4 separate regions of the Homo sapiens genome follow, and all the other regions are linked to region 2. The links are contacts of gene promoters, found by promoter capture Hi-C in blood cells and fetal thymus (Javierre and others, 2016). All regions are on one chromosome and are shown on one strand. The core of a region is centred on a gene start or on the middle of the fragment in contact, and the rest is flanking DNA. Distances in the headings are between cores, read along the strand shown. Region 1 holds the start of PSMA5 (proteasome 20S subunit alpha 5). Region 2 holds the start of CFAP276 (cilia and flagella associated protein 276). Region 3 overlaps STXBP3 (syntaxin binding protein 3). Region 4 overlaps AKNAD1 (AKNA domain containing 1).

Region 1 (5,835 bases), core at 871-3,370, 310 kb before region 2:
GCAATTCACTACTGTCTCTGACATTGATAGGGTCTGCAGAGCACCATGGAACCCTGGGTGCTCAGGAAATATTATGCTAAAGTACCTACGTAGTAAAATAACTCCGTTTTTTTTGGTTTTTTTTTGAGATGGAGTCTCACTCTGTTGCTCAGGCTGGAGTGCAGTGGTGAGATCTTGGCTCACCGCAACCTCTGCCTCCCAGGTTCAAGCAACTCTCTGCCTCAGCCTTCCGAGTAGCTGGGATCACAGGCACCCAACATCACGCCCAGCTAATTTTTGTATTTTTAGTAGAGACAGGGTTTCACCATCTTGGCCAGGCTGGTCTTGAACTCCTGACCTCGTGATCCACCCACCTCGGCCTCCCAAAGTACTGGGATTACAGGCGTGAGCCCCTGTGCCTGGCCATAAAAGAACTTCTAAAGAGCAGCTGTAGTGAATTTACGACCAAGACTTTTCCATAGAAAATAACTGATAAGGTGAAAAAAAAAAAAAGCTTGTCAGAAAGCTGACAAGAAAGCTAAAAATTACCATTCTTTTCTCAGAAATCTAACAGATCCCAGAGGATTGCTACTTGGAGTTCTTCCTCAGTTTTATTAGTGCTAAACATCTGATTGGCCAGGGATGACCAAACTAAACTCCTACTGAATCCATGAAGGAAGTCAGAAAATAAAGGGTGGGGAAAACTAATCTTGGTTAATACTCAAAAGGCTTATTTTTACATTTCCTGCACCTTTGAAATGCCTTGGTGACTTACAAACCTAATCTAGGACCAAGAATGAACTTTACTGGAGAGATACAGGCCTTGAGAGGTTAAGGACTTGACTAGTGGTATCACATTAACAACTGGAAATGAGATGCTGGCATTTCCCTTTCCAGCATATACTGCCTGATAAATGATTTCTTTCCCCCGACTCCAGCTTTAAGGTGTAAGTGACAAATAGAAATTGTTCATGTTTATGGTATACAACGTGACGTTTTGATATACATATATATACACACACACACTGCAAATAATTAAATGAAGCTAATCAACATAATCCATCATCTCACATACTTTCCTGTGGTGAGAACATTTAAGGTGTACCCTCTTCACAATTTCAAGTACACAATATATGATTATTAACTATAGAACTCATCCACCTTCTCTGACTGAAACTTTGTATCATTTGACCAACATTTCCCTATATTCCCCACCCCCGTGCCAAGACTTCTTACTTGCCTTTCTTGAACAAATACTTGAATTACAGTGTTATTACGAAGCTGCAAAGTTGCTCCTCAAGCAACTTATTGAAGGGAAGCAAGAAGCGTCGAAAAAGAAAGCGCTTTTTTTTTTTTTTTTTTTTTCGGATAGGGTTTGGCTGTTGCCCAGGCTGGAGTGCAATAGCACGATCTGGGCTCAAAGAAAACACTTATTTTTCACAAACAACAGAAAAAGCAGTGAATATTTTGAAGTCTGGATCCTGAACTCTAGGTTATTTAGGTCTGAAACCTGTACTAGGGGGAGGGGTGCAAGAAAGAGTTGATAAAATTACCTTAACCATGTGGAAACTTTAAGACTTTCTTACATACTAACCCCTCGCCCCCCACTTTTCTCAATAAACGAGCCAAACTGGCTGAAACGAAGGGACTCGTCCGCGGCGCCGGCTCAGACCCACTGTAGCCGACTCATTACCGCCCAAAGTCCTGGAGCCCTCGACCGGGCATGGAGAACACCGTGGAGGAACCCTAAGAGAGGGAATCCTGCGAAGAGAAGTCAGGTGGTGGCCTTGCCGGAAACGGGACCAAAGTCCTCTAGCTGGGATTACGGGAGCCGGCGAGGGACCTATTATGTCAGGGTTCAGACAACCCAGCTCTGCATGCAAGCCTTTCCAATTGCCAGTCTTGGGGCGGGCTCACATCTTCTCTACAAGGCGAACTCACTACACGCCTTGGGTGCCTATCGTCCCTAGCAACCACCCGCGATTTAAGGCGGAAGTACCTCCCTGGTCCTCCTCCTCCTCCGGACCAACCAAGCCCTCGTGAGGAAGCGCGTTGGCCCAATCACCTAGGCGGGAACTACTACCAGCCAATAGGAAGCAGGCACAGGAGGGCGGGCTAAAGAGGTCGCGGTCGCACGCGCAGTTGGTCCTTAGTACTGCGGCCGTGTGGGTGAGTTGGCTGCCGGTGAGTTGGGTGCCGGTGGAGTCGTGTTGGTCCTCAGAATCCCCGCGTAGCCGCTGCCTCCTCCTACCCTCGCCATGTTTCTTACCCGGTCTGAGTACGACAGGTCCGTGCAGCTGGGGGACGTCGGGTGGGAATTATGGGTGGGCAGGCCCGGGACCTGGCCGCGCGGCCTGGGTTCTGCCGTGTCATGGGGCTCCCCAGGAACCCGAGACTGGCCGGACCTGGGGATGTTATGCCCTCCTCAGGCGCCCGCCGTCCTTCCCCAAGCTAGACCACATCGGCGGCACTTGTCCTACCGCTGAGTCACCCCTGGGTCCTAACTCGGTGCGGAAGCGAGAAGCTCCGGCTGGTGCTTGGTAAAGAAGGCGTGAGGAGCCGGAACTCCTACCTTGAACCCGGAGAAGGCCAAGGGTCACTCTTTGCTCCGTTCATCTTTTCGTGCCTAGTATGACTGCCTTGAACAAACAAACAAAAAGTTAAACGTGCTTCCTGGAAGAAAAAGCAACTGGTTTGTAGTAGGGCATGCTGCGGTGTATAGTTTCTTCAGAAGCGCGAAGGCAGTCGTAGCTTTGGCTGGATATATTGTCTGGAGTCTGATTTTATAGGAACTGGAATTTAGAATGGTTTTCAAGAGATTTCTCATCATGCCGATTCCAATTGACCAAAATTTTTTCTGACTTTTTAAAAGTTTAAAGCAAGTTTTAAAAAACTTTTGTGGTATGAAAATGTTCACAATATTAAGTTGTACATATATATGCTGTAGACATTTTTACTTTCAGTTTCTGTTTTCGTCAGTTAAGTTTTTACATAGCTACTCTTTTTTAAAGTCAGGGAAGGCAGACATTTTCTTTGTACTGAGTGGTATGAGATGCTGCATTTCCTGTCAAGTATATGCTGATCCTGTCGAAGTTTTACCACCTGCAGTTACCACTTTTTCATCTTTTTTACTGACTCGTAGAAGATGTGTGTGAAGTTTTGACATATTTCCCCACTGTCCTATAAAGTGACTTTGTTGGTCGATATTTAACTTCCAGAACATTGAAGAGAATCATCTTCGGGTGACATAATTTTGAGTTAGGGTGTGTATGATAGAAATTGTTATGCTTATCAGAAGGCATTTATTAAATTTTGTGGCCATTTACTTAACATATGTATTGACTGCTTTGTTACTTATTTTTCTGTCTTCCCAAGACGGCCTAAAATACATCCCTTTTTATTCTCTTAGTTAATGTGCTTGAGTGCTTGCTGTGAACAAGGCACTGTTCTAGGTGCTGGTGCTACAGCAATGGACAAAATCAAGCTCCTTGCTCGCATATAGGAGACTCTTTTGAGACAGTCTCGCTCTGTGGCCCAGGCTGGAGTGCAGTGACGTGATCTTGGCTCACTGCAACCTCCCCCTCCTGGGTTTTGTTTGTTTTTGAGACGGAGTCTCGCTCTGTCGCCAGGCTGCAGTGCAGTGGCATGATCTCGGCTCACTGCAACCTCCGCCTCCTGGGTTCAAGCGATTCTCCTGCCTCAGCCTCCCGAGTAGCTGGGACTACAGGCGCGCGCCACCACTCCCAGCTAATTTTTGTATTTTTAGTAGAGACAGGGTTTCACCATGTTGGCCAGGATGGTCTCGATCTTTTGACCTCGTGATCCACCTGCCTTGGCCTCCCAAAGTGCTGGGATTACAGGAGTGAGCCACCGCGCCTGGCCTGCCGCCTGGGTTTAAGCAATTCTCTGACTCAGCGTCCTGAGTAGCTGGGATTACAGGCGGTGCCACCACGCCCGGCTAATTTTTGTGTTTTTAGTAGAGACAGGGTTTCCTCATCTTGGCCAGGCTGGTCTTGAACTCCTGACCTCGTGGTCCACCTGCCTTGGCCTCCCAAAGTGCTGGGATTACAGGCGAGAGCCACCTCGCTCGGCCTGAGACTCTTAAAGAATTGTTTACAGGTACAGTGGCTCATGCCTGTAATTCCAGCACTTTGGAAGGCCGAGGCAGGATTGCCTGAGCTCAGGAGTTGGAGACCAGCCTGGGCAACATAGTGAGACCTCATCTCTACTAAACATTAAAAAATATCAGCCGGGTGTGGTGGCGCTGACCTTGTCTCCAAAAAAAAAAAAGAATTGTTTACAGAAGTAACTATAGTGTGAGTCAGAAATATATTAATGCCATTAGAGAAATTCAAATCAATACCATGGAAGTTTTGATGAGGGATTGCATTCAATATGAGACGATCATGGAAAACTTCACAAAGGAGCTGACATTTAAACTAGGTTTCTTGAAAGAGTAGGAATTTAATAAAGACAGTGAGATCAATAGTTGTGGGTTGGAGAATATGGGATAAATGAAGGAGGGGCAATGGAAAAGCACAATACATTTTGGGAAAAGTCCAGTCTGACTGGCACATATGATACGTGTATGGGAACAGCAGGAGATAATGGGAAAAACAGGATGCTGCTAGATATTGAATGGTTTTTAATACGAGGCTAAGGAGTTTGGGTCCTATTTCTGTAGGCAACTGTGTGCTGTTAAATAATAATTGTGTTTTACAGAGATTAATTGTCTGAATTAGGGGAAAGTGAGTCAATACCTGTTAGTGTTAGGCTATTAACAATAGTTAGGTGAAAGGTAATGAGGGCATTGAGAAGGAAGAGTGATGTGTTACTGTGGAGGAGGAATTGATATGAATTGGTATGACTTAGCATATAGTTGGATATGGGAAAAGATGGGGAGGAATGAGTCAGATCATTTAGAACTTCGTATGTTGGGAACACTGGAAGATTTGAGATGTTTTAAATTAAAACTGAAATTGGAATGGCAGGAGATGAAGTCAATTTTGCAAGGTGGCTGGATTTAAAGAGATAATATTTCAAACTGGAAAACGTTAAGTGTTAAGTGCTAATAGGATATGCAAGTGGAAATGTTCAGCAAACATTTAAATTAGTTAGGAAAGAGGTGAAACTGGTAGTAGAGATTTGGAAGTAACTTGTGCTTAGCACTCTCCCAGGCTGGAGTGTAGTGGCACCATCTCGGCTCACTGCAACCTCCGCCTCCTGGGTTCAAGTGATTCTCATGCCTTAGCCTCTCAAGTAGCTGGGATTACAGGCACCTGCCACCACGCCCAGCTAATTTATGTGTTTTTAGTAGAGACGGGGTTTCACCTTGTTGGCCAGCCTGGTCTCGAACTCCTGACCTCAGGTGATCCGCCTGCCTCATCCTCCCAACGTGCTGGGATTACAGGCGTGAGCCACCACGCCAGGCCAAAAGCACTACTATATGACATGTTACCTGTTGTAAAGTCTGGACTCCATAAACCACGGATTGCAACCATCTCATTCATTTGTTCACATATTTTTTGTGTCCATTGTGTGCTCAAAGCTTTTATAGCTGAGACCATGATTGGTGCCTCTTCTCCGTAGGGATTTCCAGCACACTTGAGCAAGGAAAGGTGGAAAGTGTTAAGTGTTAAGGGGAAGTGTTTAGAGAGGAAAGCAGTCTGACATGTAAGTTATATAAATATTGAGTGAATGAACTAGGTTAGAATTAGGAACTACATGGATCTCAGTCTGTTAAGATAACAATAGTAATTCATACAAATAAGTAGAGAAATGTACCTGTGACTAACTTTTAGTAAAAAGTAATAATTAGGCCCAGGCACAGTGGTTCATGCCTGTAATCCCAGCATT
Region 2 (6,143 bases), core at 2,810-5,309:
GGCAGGAGAATTGCTTGAGCCTGGGAGGTGGAAGCTGCAGTGAGCCGAGATCATGCCACTGCACTCCAGCCTGGCCTGGCAACAAAGCCAGACTCTGTCTCACCAAAAAAAAAAAAAAAAAAAAAGAACAGAGAAGAGCTGGTCTACCTTGAATTGGTTTTTCACCATTTGGGGTTGGAAGCCCCCAAACTTGTTTGATCAGTTCATATTGCCAAATGAATACTATAATAATGGGTTTATTCTCTCCCTGATTGTTTTGGAGTTGAGGGTGTTCAATGGCCACTGTTTGCTCAAGGAGAATGTAAACAGGACTTGCTGACGCCTGTGGCAAATGGGCATGCCTCCTAAGCCATTTCCAATCTGGCATGGGGTGTGGATCTAATGGGAAAGAAGCTGAACAGAGAAGGAGGGTGGGTAACTCTCTTTTGTGTTTCCAATGTATTTTCTATTTCAATACTCAAAGCAATCCTTTCTGAGGTAGGTGTTATTTTGATACCCATTCTACAAATCCAAAAACCACGTGGTAAGTAACAGGACTGAAACCCTGGTAGGTTGAGCTCCATAGCTTTCCACTACCTTAAGCTTACACTTTGTGGCAAGACCTTTTGCTTAGGCAAATATTGGTTATTCAAACAGGACCAAAGGCAAAATTCGTACACAAGTTCGAGTTCTCAAGTATCAATATTCTTCCCTTCCTCCAAACCAAGATAATAGAAGTGCTTAATTTCTGAAATGTCTCATATTTTCCATTGTTGACAAAGATCTCAACAAGAATTGGTAGTTAAACTGTATGATTCTTACCTTCCACTCAGGAAACTCCCTTGTTTGATTCTTAGGCAAGTGGGCTTTCTTGGTCTCATTATTTTGGTTGGTTAGACCACAGGCCATCAAGGCCAGTGAGCCAGTCACTGATAAGATCATACTGTTCCCTGCGATCTCTAAAACAGGTCATAATGCGGCTAGGTGGAAATGTAGATGGCCCAGGGCAGGTTGTCATTGGAGCTAATAAAGGTTATCAAAAGTCCCACTCACTGGGGTCACTTATGTCATATTCATGAATCTTCAAAATCAAGTATCTTTATTCACACAAAAATCCTCCCCCCCACACCTGACTTCTTTATGACCTGCTGTGCTGTAGACACAGAACATCTTTATAAGAATTTATCTCCATATGGGATGGAGTTGTTGCCAATCAGTTCACACTAACAATTTATAAAAAATATTCTGGGCTGGGCGCAGTGGCTCATTCTTATAATCCCAGCACTTTGGGAGGCCGAGGTGGGAAGTCGCTTGAGCCCAGGAGTTAGAGACTGGCCGGGGCAGTATATCGAAACCTCATTTCTATTTTAAAACATATATTTTTTAAAGTAAAGAAAATACATCTATATATATATTCTAACCTCTCAAAACCTTAGTCAAGCTTGATATTTGGGATTAAATTTACAGAGCTAGATGCTTGACTTTTTATGAAGTCCTTCACATTTCACAGAAATAACAGAACTTTTATTTTGCCTTCCCCAACGTAGTTCTTGTAAATATCTTATTGTTGCCTCTGCCATATGGTTTCTAAAAAAGTTGCTCAGAGCACAACCAAATATTGTTATTTCAATAACATAGAAATGACTTAGTTTTGTTGCTGCTAGTGCCCTTTTATGTTCCTCCAAGATGACTTTTCAAAAGCTATTTTTGGTTATAAGAGATTGACTACCTATTGTCTGAATTCTGCTTCCAACATATTGGAAATACCTTGAAAAAGACTTTGACATATGTTAAGTCAGAGAAGGAGACTAGAGGTTGGCAGAACACAAGATATTGAAGAACTCAAAATCTGCAAAAAGGTGAGTCGTGTACTGTCAGGTACACTAAACATAGTACGCTGCGGGGAGGCCAAGCTATAAGGAGGAGACACATTTTACAGTCTGCACTAACCGATGTTTAATAAACAAGGAACTAGAGAGCTGGAATCCTATCATCCCTCTCGCACATCTCCCACCTTCACACTCCGTTTTGTGTAGCCATGATAAAACCACTTCGCTCTGATACTTTTTTCTGGCCTTCCTAACTCCTTTCCTCTCCCACTACTCTTCTTTCCTCTTCCTATTTTGCTTCTCTGTGCATAATCTTTTCTTGTCAACCACTTTTAAGGTGAGTTCATCCTAACTGGAAAATAACTCGTCTGCCTCCCTCATTCTGAGTTCAGGTACCCAGGTAGCTCCCCTTCTTGGGGCTGGGACCTTTCTCGCTGAGCTCAGCATCCCAATCTGTGAGGATGATCTATCCGTGAGTCCTCCAATGTGCTGGCCTCCTCATGACGCCAGACTGGCTCCTCTTCCCTCCCCCCACGCCTCATCCCCAAAGAAATCTAAACTCCGTGGCGTCTGAAACTCTCTGCGCCTGGGTCCCCAAGGTCTCCGCCTGGATCCAAGACTTTTGTGACCAAAGCGGGATCGGGTAGGGGGGCGGCAGTACCTCTTTGCAGGCATGAAGCTCCGGTCCCGTTCCCTGGGTCACCTGGAAGGCGGTCCCAGCCCAGAGCAGCAGCCGCCACAGCCGGGGTATGCGCCTCTCAGTTCTTCCCCTGACTCTGGCGGAGAGATGGTGGCTGTGCCCAGGCTCAGCCATAGCGTTGTCCTGAGTGAGCGGCAGTAGCGGCTCAGGTGCTGCGGCTGCTGCTTCTGCTGGCAGAAGGCGGAAAAAAAGGGGAGGGAGGTACACAGGCGGAGGATGCAAGAGGCCAGGCTCGCTTCAGTCACCTCCCTGCGGCTACGCCAACACCGCCCATCCTTCCTCCTCCCTCTGTCCTCTCCTCCTACCCACGTCGCCTTGACAACCGCCTCCTCTCTGGCTCCGCGCGGGTGGGGCAGGGACCACGCGCGCCTCTGCAGCTCACCTGCGGGTCGCCATGGCAGCCGCCGCCGCTGGTGCGCGCGGCGTGGGCGCGGGAGAGCGCGCGCCCGGGGTGCGCAACCGGCCCAACAGGCAGGCCCGGGGCTCGTGTGAAGAACACAGTGGAAGCATCCTCCAAGCCAGCCAACAAATTTCCGTTTTCTACTGCCCTTTCGGGCCAGGGGTTATTTTATGAGCATCTCCGATGTTGCACACGTGGCGTGTGAACCGAGAGAAAGAAGATGGAGAGATCACCCTCCAGACGTCGTCGCCTGGAAGAGGCCCCAGTACGTGTTCCCTCCTACGAAGGCCACTCCTGGAGATCTTACATCCCGCCAAATCCATCCGTGCTTTTACAACCGGCTAGAAGAGAAGCCCTGACACTGTAGTTGATCCGAGTTTAAGCGAGGAGTTTGCCTTAGCCGCAATTTCCCAAGCGCCGCACGTGGGCCTCTCTCTCTCTCTCTCTCTCTCTCTCTCTCTCTCTCTCTCTCTCTCTCTCTTTCTCTCTCTCTCTCTCTCTCTCTGAGACAGGGTCTCACTCTCTCGCCCACACTGGAGTGCAGTGGCGCGATCTCGGCTAACTGCAACCTCCGCCTTCCGGGTTCAAGAGATTCTCCTGGATTAGCCTCCCGAGTAGCTGGGACTACGGGCGCGTGCCACCAAGCCCAGCTAATTTTTTTCCTACTTTTTGTAGAGACGGGGTTTCGCCATGTTGCCCAGACTGGTCTCGAACTCTTGGGCTTAAGCGATCCGCCCGCCTCCGCTTCCCAAAGTGCTGAGATTACAGGCGTGAACCACCGCGCCCGGCCCTCTTTGGTCTCTTGACATCCTCATTCTCTCATGGCTTTGAAAGCCTTTTGTTAGGTGCGAGGGAGAAGGAAATTTCTGGGTCATCTTTCAGGACTTCTTTCCTCAACTGAAGTCTTTTGCAGAAGTCCTGATGGTGAGCAGCCAGCACTTTTCCGCCGAGGCTCAGGAGTGCAATTCCAAGTCTCGGGCCCGCTCAGCGGAACGTTCCCTCTGCAGTCCCCGGAGCTTCCTCCCCAGGGGCCTCCCGTGGTCAGCCGCCAGGTGGCGCCCTCCTCTGAGGGAATTCCTCTGTCATAGATGGCTGGGCAGTTGCCTGGCAACCGAAACCAGCGCTCCAAACAATTGGGACCCGGGATCTTATGCCAGTGAGGCTGTGCTGCGGCTGAGCGGGCCTCCCATCCCTCTTAAAAGAGTTAGGCATTTAGCCATGCCTCCCACCCGGGACCCTTTCCAGCAGCCTACATTAGATAACGATGATTCCTACTTAGGAGAACTGCGGGCTTCCAAGGTACTGTGGTTTCTTGCGCAGATTCCCAGTAGGGTCGCCGGTAGTCTTCTTTCTGTCTGTGTGATGAGCAGAGATGGTAACATAAAGGACTCTGGTGAAGACACTCAGTCGGGTACCAGGGAAGTCTGTTTTCTGCCTGCCTCCCTATCTCCATATTCAAGTCGGCTAACGTTTCAGAGGCGTTTTTGAGCAGAGGAAAGTAGAGTTCTAGTCTAGAGGAACAAGGGGCTCTGGCAGCTCAAATCAATTGTGAGTATAAGTTATGGCAGTGCCCAGGTTCCTTCAAGCTACCCATTTCCCTATTTGGAAGACTGTTCTCTGAAGAGAAATGAGATATGGAGTGGGAGAGAATCCTCTGAAAGCCACCAGAGGTCATGCTTTACACATCTGTGTTCACACTGTCTCTGTCTTCTGGTTAACACCACAATATGTTTGTTATGTGTGTGTTTAGCATGATGGTGGACACTGATTTCGGAACTTAGATGATCTTTTTTCTGGTAGAAGTGATTGGGATATATGAAGTGGTGCACAATAAGATGAATTAAGTGGTGATTGTGGTCTAATAACAATATTGAGAGCCCCTTTTTATTTATTCAATACTTATTTACTATAAGCCAGACACTCTGCTAAACGCCAAGGATATATAAATAAATTAGATGTAGCTTCTGCTGTCAAGGAACTCTAGTAGTAAAGAGAGACCGACAATAGCAAAAATGCTTGCACAATAGCACATGTTGTGACAGAGTTGTGTGCAGGGTGCCGTGAGAACCAGGAACTTAAAGGAAAGCTTCACAGAGCAGATGCATTTTGATGTCCAAATATGAGTTAGGTAGGCCAGGTGAGGGAGTGGATAGAATGTGAGTTAGGAAGAAGGAAACAGGAACCAGATATGCAAGGCAAAGGAAGCAGCAGGTGCAAATACATGGAAAGGAGAGAGAGAATGGCTTATTTGGGGAACTGCAAATAGTCTAGAAGGGCTGGAGTGTAGGCGTGCAATGGAAGCACTCAGAAATCAGAGCTGGAGAGATGCCCTTGGTTGGCTGGGTGTGCTGTGTACACCATGCTAGCTAGCTATGGTTTCATCCTAGGGATGTGAGGAATCATTGTGGGATATTTTTTTTTTTTTGAGACAGGGTCTCCTTGCTCTGTCACCCCAGCTGGAGTGCACTGGTGCAATCTTGGCTTACTGCAGCCTCGAACTCCTGGGCTCAAGCAATTCTCCCACCTCAGCCTCCCAAGTAGCTGGGACTACAGGTGATGCCACCACACCCGGCTAATTCTTATTTTATTTTTTTGTAGAACCAGGATCTTCCTTTGTTGCCCAGGCTGGTCTCAAACTCCTAGCCTCAAGTGATCCTCCTGCTTTGGCCTCCCAAAGTGCTGAGATTACAGGCATGAGCCATGGGTCCCAGCCCCATAGCAGGATTTTAAGTACCACAGTGACACAATCAGATGGGTGTTTTAGGAAGCACAAGTGGCAGCAGACTGGATAGGATGAGAGTGAGACAAGAGGGATCAGCTAGGAGGCAGGTGAGGTGATCTCCAGGAGGAAGAGTAACAGATCTACAGCAGTGCCACAGGGGGTGGTGATCAGGTGCAGATGTGAGAAAGGTGCACAGGGCAGGACTGACAGGACTTGGAGACTGACTGGACATGGGCCCAAGAGAGGAGGTGAGTCTAGGATAGCTGCTGGGTTCCTAACGGTTTAATTCTGAGGTTTCACTGAAATGGGGCATCCTGGGGAAGCAGGTTTGGGGAGAAAGATGTTGAGAAACATCAACTATGTAGATGTTTTTGTAGTGACTGTGGTATATTTAAGTGAAGGTCAATAGTAGGCAACAGGATTGAGAGTTCTGGATTGAAGATGTATGACTGAGCTGTGTATCCGTATGAGCTATGGTACCCATATGGTAGTTGAAGCCATGGAAGGGAATCA
Region 3 (6,189 bases), core at 2,853-5,352, 320 kb after region 2:
GTATTCTAAATACAATGATTTGATCATTACACACTGTATGCACGTATAAACATATTACATGCCTCATAAATATGTACAGTTACTATGCATCAATAAAAAAGCTAAGAAAAGAACACCTCAAAATGTAAAAACAAAGAAACTCCCAAAAAGTAGACCTAAGATGTTGTTGGCAGAAAAAGACTTCAAAGTAACACATTTATGTTAAAGTGGAAACAGAGGAAAAGATGGACTACATGGATCAAAAGATGGAGTATTTTAACAGAGAACTAGAATTTATTTTCTAAAAATCCAATGAATGTCCTAGAGTTAAATATAAGACTTTAAGTTAGCAAATGATAACATCTGTTCATAGACATGAATGTCTGATATGAAGAAGGTGAATATTTTTAGTAGCTTTATTCATAATTGCCAACAACTGGAAAAACTAAAATGTTCTGAAACTGGTAAATTGATAAACAACTTGTGGTACATCCATATGATGGAATACTACTCAGCAATAAAAAGTAATGAAACTACTCTTGCATGCAGCATGAATGAATCTCAAATGCATTATGCTAAATGAAAAGAGCCATAGTGTATTACTCCATTCATTGGACATTCTGGAAAAGGCAAAACTACAGGGTCAGAAAACAGATTAGTAGTTGTCAGGGGATGGGGACTGAGTTAAGGGGTTATCTGCAAACGGGCATGAGGACATTTTGGGGGGTGATGACATTATTCTCTATCTTGATTGTGGTAGTGGTTATATGAGAGTGTGCATTTGTCAAAACTCACAGAACTGTATACTACAAAGGGGAAATTTTGCTTTATACCTCAGTTTTCAAAAGGATACAATGAATGGGTTTAATAGCAGACTGAATACAACAGAAGACAGAAGTAGGGGACTCAAAGTCAGGTTAATAGAGAACATTCAGTTGCAATGCGGAGAGGTTAAAAAAAAAAAGGTAACAGAATGCAAGAGATATAGAATACAGTCAAGAGATCTAAAAAACATGTTGACTGGGGTCCCAGAAAGAGAGAAGAGAGAGGATGGGACAAAAGGAAGATGTGAGGAGATAATGACCAAGAATTTTACAAACATAATGAAAGTTATCAACCCAGTGACTCAAGAAGCTCAGCAAACCCCATGGAGGATAAATAGCAAGCAAACCACATTACAGTAAGGCATATCATGGTCAAATTGCTAAAAAATCAAAGATACAGAGAAAATATTAATAAACACAGTTTATCTTCAGGAAAACAATAATACTTAACAGCTGCCTTTTTTCAGCAGAAATTATGGTAGCCAGAAGGTGATGTATTGAAAGCTTTAAATTGCTGAAAGGAAAAAAATTGCCAACTTTGAATTCCAAATCCAGCAAAAGTATCTTAGAAAAAATTGCAAAACGAAGATGCCCTCAGACAAAAAGAAAGCTGGGAGAATTCAATCTAACCCAGCTGGAAAAACTGAAGAGCAGTAAGAAATAAACAGTACCAGAATGTATAAATATGTGGGTAATAATAAAAGTCTACTGAGTGTTTATAACAAAATAACATCTTGCTTTTATTTTTTTGGGTTTTTCTTTCTGAAAAAAATAACATCTTGAGTTTATAACATACATTGAAGTAAAATACATGAAACAACTGCACAAAAGAGAAAGGGGATAAAGTTAAACTATTATAAGATTCCTGAATTATTCAGGACATGACATATTCAGGACATACTATTAAACTAGGGTAAGAATACATTTTTAAATTTCCAGTATAATAACTAAAGGAAGGACTAAAGGCAAAACACAAATGTTTATATTGGAGATGAAATGGAATTTATTTTTAAAAAAGACTTGATAAAGAAGGAAAAGAATAGAATATAAAAAATGAAGTGAAAACAAGATACTAGATATAAATTTAACTATATCAATAATTACATGAAATATATATGAACTAAACAAGCATTCTAATTAAAAGATTTTTGGGCTGGATAAAAAAACAAAATTCAACTACAAGCTCTTTTTAAGAAGCACATTTTAAATATCAAGACACAGGTAGTTGAAAGTAAAGGATGGGAAAAGATATACTATGTAAACACTAACAAAAGAAAGAAGATATAGTGGTATTAACATCAAAGTAGACCTCAAGACAAGAAATACTGCAAGTAATAAAAGGGACATTTTATGATGATAAAAGGCCAAATTCAACAGAAAGATAGCTATCTTAAATGTATAATGAACTTAACATAGCTTTATCAGTTAATATAACTTCAAAAGTTGAAAGGACTAAAGAAAAACAAACTAATTCACAGTCATGATCAGAGTTTTTAATATACCACTTCTAGTAACTGACAGAGCAGGTAAAAAAAAATCAGAAAAGAAATAGAAGATTTGAACATGATTAACCATCTTGATTTAACTGACACATACAGAATTTATATTCCTTTCAAGTACACATAGGGCACTTATGATAATATATGCTAGGTCAGAAATCAATTTTTTTTTTTTTTTTTTTGAGACAGAGTCTCACTCTGTTGCCCAGCCTCCTGAGTAGCTGGAGCCACAGGTGTGTGCCATCACACATGGCTAATTTTTGTATTTTTAGTAGAGATGGGGTTTCGCCATGTTGGCCAGGCTGGTCTTGAACTCCTAGCCACATGTGATTCGCCTGCCTTGGCCACTCAAAGTGCTGGGATTACAGGCACGAGCCACCATGCCCAGCCCCATAAATCAAGTCTTAACATATTTTAAAAGACTGATGTCATATAGTGCACATTCTCTGACCACTGTATAATTAAATTACAACTCAGTAACAGAAAGATAACTAGAAAATTCCCAAATGCTTTGAAATTTAAAAACGTATTCCCTATATAACACATGGGTCAAAGAAGAAATCATAATAAGGGTTAGAAAATGTTTTGAACTAAATGAAAATAAGTTATTCCAAAACTCCTGGGATGCAGCTAAGTTTGAAGATGTAAATAACTATAAAATATATACAATAGAACAGAAGAAAGGTTGGAAATCAATGTTCTAAAACTCCAACTCAGGAAGCTAGAAGAAAAAATTTAAACCAGGGGTGTCCGATATTTTGGCTTCCCTGGGCCACACTGGAAGAAGAACTGTCTTGGGCCACATATAAAATACACTAACAATAGCTGATGAGGTTAAAAAAAAAATCACAAAAACATCTCATAATGTTTTAAGAAAGTTTACAAATTTGTGTTGGGCCACATTCACAGCCGTCCTGGGCTGTATGTGACCCATGGGCCACAGGTTGGACAAGCTTCATTTAAAACAAAGTAAGCTGAAGGAAGGAAATAAAACTGAGTAAAAATCAGCTAATTAAAGATAAAACATGCAAGAGTGAAAATCAACAAAGACAAATGTTGGTTCTTTGAAATATTAATAACATATGCAGTGAATTTTATTTTATTTTTTTTTACATGGAGTCTCACTCTTTTCTCCAGGCTGAAGTGCAGTGGCACTATCTTGGCTCACTGCAACCTCCGTCTCCCAGGTTCAAGCAATTCTCCTGCCTCAGCTTCCCGAGTAGCTGGGATACAGGTAGGCACCATCAAGCTCGGCTAATTTTTGTATTTTTTTTAGTAGAGACAGGGTTTCACCATGTTGGCCAGACTGGTCTCAAACTCCTGACCTCAGGTGATCCGTCTGCCTTGGCCTCCCCAAGTGCTGGGATTACAGACGTGAGCCACCGTGCCCGGACTGCAGGGGATATTAATAATATATAGGGGAATAAACAAATTAACAATAGCAAGATTAGTAAATAAAATCTAACTATAGATTCTACACATATTGAAAGGATAAGAGGACATTTCAAAATTTAGATATAATAGACAAATTCCCTGAAAAATGCGATATCCCAAAACTAATGAAGAAAAAGTAAAAAACTAAATAGTTCTATATCTATTAAATAACTTATCATTAATTATAACGAAAGACCTCCCCATAAAGAAGTCTCTATGCCTGAACTGCTTCAATGGTGAATTCTTTCAAGCAGCAATAGAACAAGCAGTAACAATCTTACACAAACTCTTTCAGAGAATGGAATGACAAAGTGTGCATCACAATTCATTTCATAAGACCAAAAAAATCTTGCTGCTAAAACCTGACAAGAACATTACAAAAAAGGACTATTACAGAAAAGTATTTCTCATAAATATAGAAGCAAATATCCTACAACAAAATATTAGCAAACAAAATCCAGTGATAGAGGAAAAGGATGATGCATCATGATCAAGTGGAGTTTATTCTAGAAATGGTTACTTTTATGTTAGTAAGTCAATAAATGTAATTCATCACATTAACAGAATAAAGGGGAAAAAAAGACAATATCAAAATGCCTTTGATGAAATCCAACATCGAAATTTCCTGATTAAAAGAAAACAGAAACAGGCTGGGTGTGGTGGCTCACGCCTGTAATCTCAGCATTTCGAGAGGCTGAGGCAGGAGGATTGTCTGAGCTCAGGAGTTCGAGACCAGCCTGAGCAATATGGTGAAATTCTGTCTCTATTAAAAACACACAAAAATTAGCTGGGCATGGTGGTGCACACCTGTAATTCCAGCTGCTTGGGGGCCTGAGGTGGGAGGATCGTTTGAGCCCAAGAGGTTGAGGCTGCAGTGAGTTGAGACTGCACCACTGCACTCCAGCCTGGGTGACAGAACAAGACCCTGTCTCTTAAAAAAAAGAAAAAAGAAAAAAACAAAAAACAGAAACACATAAAAACCTGTTGGTAAACTAAGAATAGAAAGGAACATCCTTAATCTGATAAAAGAAAACTACCTAAAACTAACATAATACTTAATGATGAAATATTGAACTCATTTCCCATAAAGCTGGGAATGAGACAAGGACGCTCATTATCACCAGTTTGATTTCATGTTATACTGGAGGTATCAGCCAGAACCAGGAGGTATTAACTACTAAAAAAAAAAAATTTTAAACGTATGACAAGCTTGTCTAACCCACCTTATTTTGTTGTTGTTGTTGTTCTGTTTTGTTTTAGGCTTTTTGCAGCCTGAAGCCATGGTTTTTAGTTTCTGTCTCTAGTGATAAGTGGAAAAGAGGGATAAGGAAGGGACTTTACTAGCCGAAACAGAAACTAAGAACCCATGACTGTATTCTCTCCTTTGGACACCTCTGGAAGATTAATTTAGAAAGGAAGACACTAAATTTTCTTTATTCACAGATTATATTACTGTGTATATAAAAATCCAGCTAGGTGCACTGGTACCTGCCTGTAGTCCCAGCTACTAGGGAGGCAAGGGTGGGGGGATTGCTTGAATTCAGAGACTAGCCTGGCCAACAGAGTTCCGATCTCTTAAAAACAAAAAAGCCAATCTATAAACAAAGTACTAGAATTAAAAAATAAATTTAGCAAGGTCACCAGATCCAAGGTAAATATACAAAAATCAATCACATTTTATATACTAATAAAGTAAAATGGAATTTAAAAAATACCATTTATAACACCAAAAAATCAAATACCTAGAAATAAAGAAAAAATGTGCAATACCACTAAAATGAAAATTATAAAATGCGGCTGAGATAAACTATCTACATAAGTGGAGCTATATTCTATGTTCTTGGATCAGAAGATGCAATATTTTTGTCAGTTCTTCCCAAATTAGTGTACAGATTCATGTAATCCCAATCAAAATTTCAGTTAAATGTTTCTGTTGAAATTGTCAAGCAGAATCTAAAATGTGTATTAAAAGACAAAGGTTGTAACAGCTGAGACAATCTTGAAGAACAAAGCTGGAAGACTTATACTACCAAATTTCAAAACCATTACAAAGGTACACTAGTTAAGACAGTGTGGTCTTGTTACAAGGATAGACAAATTGACCATGGAAAAGGACATGGAGTCCACAGACCCACACATTTATGGTCACTTGATTCACAACAAATGCATTACTGCAACTCAATGGTGAAAGGATGGTCTTTACAATAAACAGTGCTTGAGTAATCAGATATGTATATCGAAATAAAATGAAGCTAGACCCTTACCTCACACCATAAATCAAAATTAATTTGAGTGAATGGCATGGTTTGGCTCTGTGTCTCCACCCAAATCTCACCTTGAATTGTAATAATCCCCACGCGTCAAGGGCAGGACCAAGTGGAGATAACTGAATAATGGGGGCAGTTTCCCCCATGCTGTTCTTGTGATAGTGAGTGAGTTCTCATGAGATCCGA
Region 4 (6,226 bases), core at 715-3,214, 270 kb after region 2:
TCTTGAACTAATGACCTAAAATGATCTGCCCACTTCGGCCTCCCAAAGTGCTGGGATTATAGGCATGAGCCACTGTGCCTGGCCTTTGGCTAAGTACTCTAAGCCACAGTCTCTTTTCTCAATGGAATAACATCTCTAAGACCAGGAACTGTGCCTGATGCAATTTTTTAATCTCACACTTCTGGCCCAGGGCCAGAAATAGAAAGTGCTCAGGGAATGTTTAGTGACTGGGGATGTGGAACTGAAGCCTCCATACATCTTCAACATGCCCCTAACCCGCACAGTTTAAACATTCATCTGCTTGAGGCTGCACGTAGTGATGTCTGGAAGACCCATTCACAGCTTTGGCTAAATCTTCCTGCTGTTCCTTCCCCATCTCATCCTCCAACTCCCCACAGACTGAAACCCAGGCCATGTAACTACAGTTCCTTTTTAAGATCTATGTGCCTTCAGACATATTGCTAGAGCTCCAATTTCCTCCTTTGTAAAAGTGGGATAATAAAATATACTTTACTACATTTACAACATTGATGTGTTGATTAAATAAGATGAGGAATGGAAAAATGCTTTGTAAGCTAAAAACCATTCTGCAAATATACAGGATTATGAATGTCCCACTAAGGAAGGCCAGAGGCCTCTGAGTGGGTTCTGAGAGAGAAATCAGAAGTAATTGTACTTTTGAGCTGTGTGCTGTGAGGGTTTGTGAATGTTGAGATGACCCTTGGGTTGTCTGTAGTTTAGATGTCAGACTCTGAGACAAAACAATTTATGCTGCTGGGAGAAGGATGGCAGCTTTGTTTTGACACTACTGTAGGGTACACCTGCTTTGTGTTTTTGGGAAAACAATTACACACACAGGCTTGCATGTGAATGATTCCAGTGACTTCACCGCTGCAGGTCCTGGAGAAACTGCAGGGACACCTTGAACTGCTGGAGCAGAACTTTCTGGCCACCAAGGACAAGCATCTGACTTTGCAGCAGCAAGTCCACAAGCACGAATCAACAATCGTTGGTGACTTTGATCCAGAAAGGTCAGATTTAAACCAACTGTGTAAGGTGGAAGGGTCAAAGGTGATCTCCTTCAGGTGGGATTCTGATGTGGCTGCTGGCTTAGTGCTTGGAGAGCCACTGGTCTAGGGTCAGCAGAAACTGTGTCACCAATGAACAAAGTGTCACCTAATACCACAGACAGCATGGAGGACCTGTTGAGTGTAAGGTGCTGTGCTGGACATTGACTCAGATGGAACACCCAAAATGAACAAATGCTTCCTGGGGCAGAGGCATTGTACCAAAATTTTGCAATTTGTTGAATATCATTATAATTGGTTTGGAGACCCAGAGGAGCCTAAGAAAACCCTAGAAAGGCTCACATGATAACCACAGAGGGCCCTCTTCTCAAGTTCCTCCTCTCCTCTCCCTCTCAGCTTTTTCCTCTCTTATCTATCTCTCCCCACACCTGCCTTTATTGTCCTTGCCTGGTTCTCTCTTCTGTCCCTCTCTTTCCCCTTTTCTTTCCCATTCACTGATAATTCCAAGGCACACTGGGCAGGAGGGGGTCATTGTAAAGTTAATTGGTGTCAGGGTGAGGGACCTACAAATCCTGATAAAGGAAAAGCGTGAAAGCTTAAAGTTAAATGATTTCTGAGTTAATTCACATTAGAATCTTGAACACACACTCCAAACTGAAGTTTCTAACTGGTAGTTTTTATGGCACTGTATTCTCCTTTCTCCATTCCAGATAATTTTAAGCTGTATTCCAGGACTCAAGGAGAGGATTCTTTCCCTATAATTTCCTGGTATAAATTAAAAGAAACTATTTAGTAGGCTTAATATTTGTGAGTTTAGCCCTTTCTATTCATAGCATTTTAATATGGAATTGTTGTTGCCAAATTTTTTAATGGTTTACATTTCAGCCCTAGCGTTCTGTGGCATTTTTTTCCCCAAGGTATGGTTTTACTTTTCCAAAATTAATGGAACCTCTGTCTACCTTTATTTCAGCACTGAGTAATTAGACAGTAAGGATGAGGTTTTAATATTGATTTTTTTCCCAAAGGCTTTTTTTGGGGGGAGAGGAAGAAAGAACTCTGCATGCTTCTGCTATTTAAAATTAATAGAGTAAGGATATTTATTTTCCAAGGAATCTTCTGCTTGGGCAGTCATTTTAAAGACAGGTTTCTGTGCACATTAAGACCAAAGTTATTCAATGTCTTATTTATATCCTAGTTACAGCCACACTGTGCCTGGCATGAGTATAAATAAAAAGAGCTTCAACTGCAATTACATTCCATATATGGGAGAAGCTTTCAACACTGGGGCAAGGGAGGGACCCAGACTTTCCCAAATCTCGGCTGAAGTCACCTCAGGACAGGCAAAGACTGATCAGCTCCAGAATAGTCCCCTTGTTCTCAAATGGGCATAATGTGACAAGGAACAGAATCCCATACAACCCTTGGGTTCTTGATATGTCGAGAACCTTATAAGTGTTGAGTCCAAAGGCTAATGCAGAGGGCTTTCTGGAGGGGCAAGAATTCTGCAAATTCATTGACTAGTCCTTTGTTTACATCACCTGCTGTGCTCTTATTAAAGCCTTCTCATTATTACCTTTACAAGGTAATGTGCAAAAATATTTGCTTGGATTTCATGCATCTTGCTTGTCAGAATGTAGTCCAATAGTAATTTGCTTCTTTCACATATTAACTTCAGAAGCCAAGAATTCAAGAAATGGGGTTCTACCTTCATCAGCCACTTCTCCCTGAGAGTCTCAGCATAAAATCTTATGTTCTGCTTTAAAGAAAAGATCACAACTTCCCTCAAAAATGTCTCTTCTATCTCCAAATCCCCATGTTTTCACCTCCTCTCCCTTCCTTAGTCTGCTCTCCAACCTCTCTAGCCATGGTCCTTGAACCCATCCCTTTCTACTTCCTTGAGGCCTTGCTCCATCATTTTATTTCTTTTATTATTATTATTTTTATTATTACTATTATTATTATTTGAGATGGAGTCTTGCTCTGTTGCCCAGGCTGGAGTGCAGTGGCGCGATCTCGGCTCACTGCAACCTCCACCTCCCAGGTTCAAGCGATTCTCCTGCCTTAGCCTCCAGAATAGCTGGGATTAAAGGTGCATGCCACCATGCCTGACTAATTTTTTCATATTTTTAGTAAAGACGGGGTTTCACCGGGTTGGCCAGGCTGGTCTTGAACTCCTGACCTAAAGTGATCTGCCCACCTTGGCCTCCCAAAGTGCTGGGATTACAGGCATGAGCCACCGTACCCGGGCTCATTTCTTTTAAACTTTCAGTCTCTCCTTGTCCCCTGTTTCATTCTCTTCTGCCTGCAAGATCCCAACATAGTTTCCTATATTTTATTCAATTATCACTTTGTTTTTTTCATGCTTAGATCTTTGTCCCACCACTTATTGAATAGGGCAGCCTTTCCCCACTGGTTGAAAAAGCCCCTTATATCAGATACAAAACCTCCACATGTATACAGAACTGTTTCTATTCCATCCCATTGATCTATGTGTCTATTTCTACATTATCCACATAAACTATTATAGGTTAGTGTATATTTAGAAATGTTTCTTCTTTTTAAAATTTTCTTATAGCTATTCTTATACACTCATGTTACTAATAAACTTTATAATCAGCTCACCAAGGTTCTTAATAAAATTTCATGAGGATTTTGCTTAGGAATGTATTGAATTTATAGGTTAGATTGGGAAGAACTGAAATCTTTGTAGTAAGTATTCCCATCACGTTTTCTTCATGCAGATTTTACACATTTTTTTGTTAGGTTTATTACTAGCTATTTTATAGTGTTCTGAGTATTGTCGACAGATGTTTTCTCTAATTGATGTCATAGGAAGTATTTCCATATTGTATATTTAACTTGTACTGGGCTACCTTATGCAATTCTCTTCTTAGTGTTTTGTTGATTTTTTAGTTGATTGTCTTAATTTTTAAGTATGACAATCCATAGCATCTGAAAATATTAATAAGCTTTTTACTCCAGAATATTTGTATTGTACTTTCTTTTCTCTCCAATTCTTATCTATCTCATTTCTTTTTCTTTATTTCATTTGCTAGGTTTTCCAGAACAATATTGGATAATTAATATTAGTGAAAGACAGCATTTTTTTTTTTTTCAGACAAAGTCTCACTCTTGTCCAGGCTGGAATGCAGTGGCACAATCATAGCTCATTGCAACCTCAAACTCCTGGACTCTGGGATCCTCCCACCTCAGCCTCCTGAGTAGCAGGGACTACAGGTGCATGCCACCACTCCCAGCTAATTAAAAAAAATTTTTTTTGTAGAGACATGGTCTCCCTATGTTTTCCAGGCTAGTCTCGAACTCCTGGGTTCAAGTGATACTCCCACACTGTGGTCTCCCAAAGTGTTAGGATTACCAGCGTGAGCCATAAAAGACAGCATTCTTGTCATGTTACTAATAATAATGAGAACTCTCCTAAGTATGATTCAAATAGATAAGCTTCATCAAGAGAGTTTTCTTCTATTCCTAGCTTTCTAGAATTAGGGCTTTTGTTGTTATTTAATTCAAGAAAATGTTTAATCAAATGGGATTTAGAAATCTAGTTTTTCTCCTTTAATCTATTAATTTAGTGGAATATGTTAATAAATATACTAACGTTGAACCACAGAATGAGTTGGGCAATTTTCCCTTTTCTTTTTTTTTTTATTGAGACGGAGTCTCGCTCCTCCAGGCTGGAGTGCAGTGGCGCGATCTTGGCTCGCTGCAAGCTCCGCCTCCCGGCTTCACGCCATTCTCCTGCCTCAGCCTCCCAAGTAGCTGAGACTACAAGCATCCGCCAAGTTTTCTGTATTTTTAGTAGAGACGGGGTTTCACCATGTTAGCCAGTATGGTCTTGATCTCCTGACCTCGTGATCCACCCACCTCGGCCTTCCAAAGTGCTGGGATTACAGGCGTGAACTACCGCGCCGGGCCCCTTTTCTTTTCATGTTCTGGAAGAGTCTAATAATATAGGACTTATCTGTTGCTTAAAAGTCTTGGTAGAATTATGTTTAGTGAACTCCAAGGTTCTATACACGTGCTTCGGGGTCTGCATATACTTGATTTAAATTTCTCCTTTAAAAATATATGTTGAAATATATGCTTTCAAACTGTTATAAATTACATTTTAAACTATGTAATACATAAAAATTAACATATTAGAGACATTGAAATTTTTTTTAAAAGGCTTGGTAGAACTCACCCATTATCCCACTCTTCATGCCTTTCATGGAGTAGATTTTTAACACTTTCCATTTTTCTCTGGTTGTTGGTCTTTTCATATTTTCTACTTTTTTAAAAGTGAATTTTAATAATTTATATTATTCTAGAAACTTGCCCAGTTCACCTAAATTTTAAATGGTGTTGATATGGATTTTTCAATGCCTTTTGATTTAAAATTTTTCCTATTTTTCCTTTCTCATTCTTAATGTTATTTGTTTTTCAGACTTCCAGTGGTTTGTTTCATAGATATTTTGGAAGAAAACATGTTTTATCTTATTGATCAAATTCTTTTAAGTCTCATTTATTTCTAGTAATTTTATGAATCCTTTTCTGTGGTTTATTTTATATTCCCTTTTCTATCTTCCTATTTTAAATAGTTGATTGATTTTTGATTTTTTCCCCCAATAATGCATTTAAGACTAGAAGTTTTCCTCAGAGTACTGCTTTAACTGCATTACATTGGTTTTCCTATGTTATTCTCTCATTTGTCATTGACTTGTAAGTTATGCCTAACATTCATTTTTATTTCCTACTTAATCCAAAGCTATTTAGGTATTAAAATTTCTAATTAAACAGGGTTTTTTTTGGGGGGGGGGCTATCTTTTTGTTGTTAATGTCTAGTGATAAGAGAATGTAGGTAGTATAATTTTTAATATTTTGGATTTTCTTGAAATTTTCCTTTGTGGACTGTTACGAGGTAAATTTTTATAAATGTAATGGATTTGAAGAAAATGGATTCTCTTTGTTGGGTAAAATATATATTTATATACACATACACATATATTCATATGGATTAGAACTTGTTAATTAAATTATTCAGATATCTAATATTCTTCCTCTTTTTAAATTAGCATAACAAGTAATTCCATAGAATCACAGTTCTTAGAATCCCTTGTAAGGGATCTCAAAATCATCAAATCCAGATAAGTAAGGTACAATATTGTTATCCCAGGTTATAAGTGAGACATTGGAGGCCC

What was found. The method cuts DNA at HindIII sites, captures the fragments that hold promoters and counts their contacts. A CHiCAGO score of 5 or more calls a contact.
Region 1: a contact is called between the fragment with the promoter of PSMA5 here and the fragment with the promoter of CFAP276 in region 2, in 5 of 17 cell types (M2 macrophages, endothelial precursors, M1 macrophages and 2 more). The highest score is 6.4, in M2 macrophages.
Region 3: a fragment that was not itself captured here is called in contact with the fragment with the promoter of CFAP276 in region 2 in 1 of 17 cell types (naive CD4 T cells); the score reaches 5.2 in naive CD4 T cells.
Region 4: a fragment that was not itself captured here is called in contact with the fragment with the promoter of CFAP276 in region 2 in 1 of 17 cell types (erythroblasts); the score reaches 5.5 in erythroblasts.

What each region holds. Positions count from the first base shown.
Region 1 is chr1:109,422,733-109,428,567 of GRCh38, reverse strand. It overlaps PSMA5 (proteasome 20S subunit alpha 5), which reads left to right and starts at 2,120. Exons shown (of 9, transcript NM_002790.4): 1 at 2,120-2,266. The coding sequence starts at 2,238. RefSeq lists enhancers at 1,560-1,619, 1,126-2,057. The HindIII fragment of the contact is 5,034 bases long and covers 496-5,529 here.
Region 2 is chr1:109,110,663-109,116,805 of GRCh38, reverse strand. It overlaps CFAP276 (cilia and flagella associated protein 276), which reads left to right and starts at 4,059. Exons shown (of 5, transcript NM_001245025.3): 1 at 4,059-4,207. The coding sequence starts at 4,127. ELAPOR1 (endosome-lysosome associated apoptosis and autophagy regulator 1) reads right to left here and starts at 2,691. Exons shown (of 22, transcript NM_020775.5): 1 at 2,470-2,691. The coding sequence starts at 2,622. RefSeq lists a silencer at 2,870-2,939. The HindIII fragment of the contact is 3,574 bases long and covers 1,423-4,996 here.
Region 3 is chr1:108,786,287-108,792,475 of GRCh38, reverse strand. All of the region lies in intron 11 of STXBP3 (syntaxin binding protein 3), which reads right to left. Among named protein-coding and RNA genes, the nearest start is that of STXBP3, 43 kb to the right of the region's middle. The HindIII fragment of the contact is 1,690 bases long and covers 3,258-4,947 here.
Region 4 is chr1:108,837,939-108,844,164 of GRCh38, reverse strand. AKNAD1 (AKNA domain containing 1) reads left to right here. Exons shown (of 16, transcript NM_152763.5): 6 at 898-1,031. Among named protein-coding and RNA genes, the nearest start is that of AKNAD1, 16 kb to the left of the region's middle. The HindIII fragment of the contact is 677 bases long and covers 1,626-2,302 here.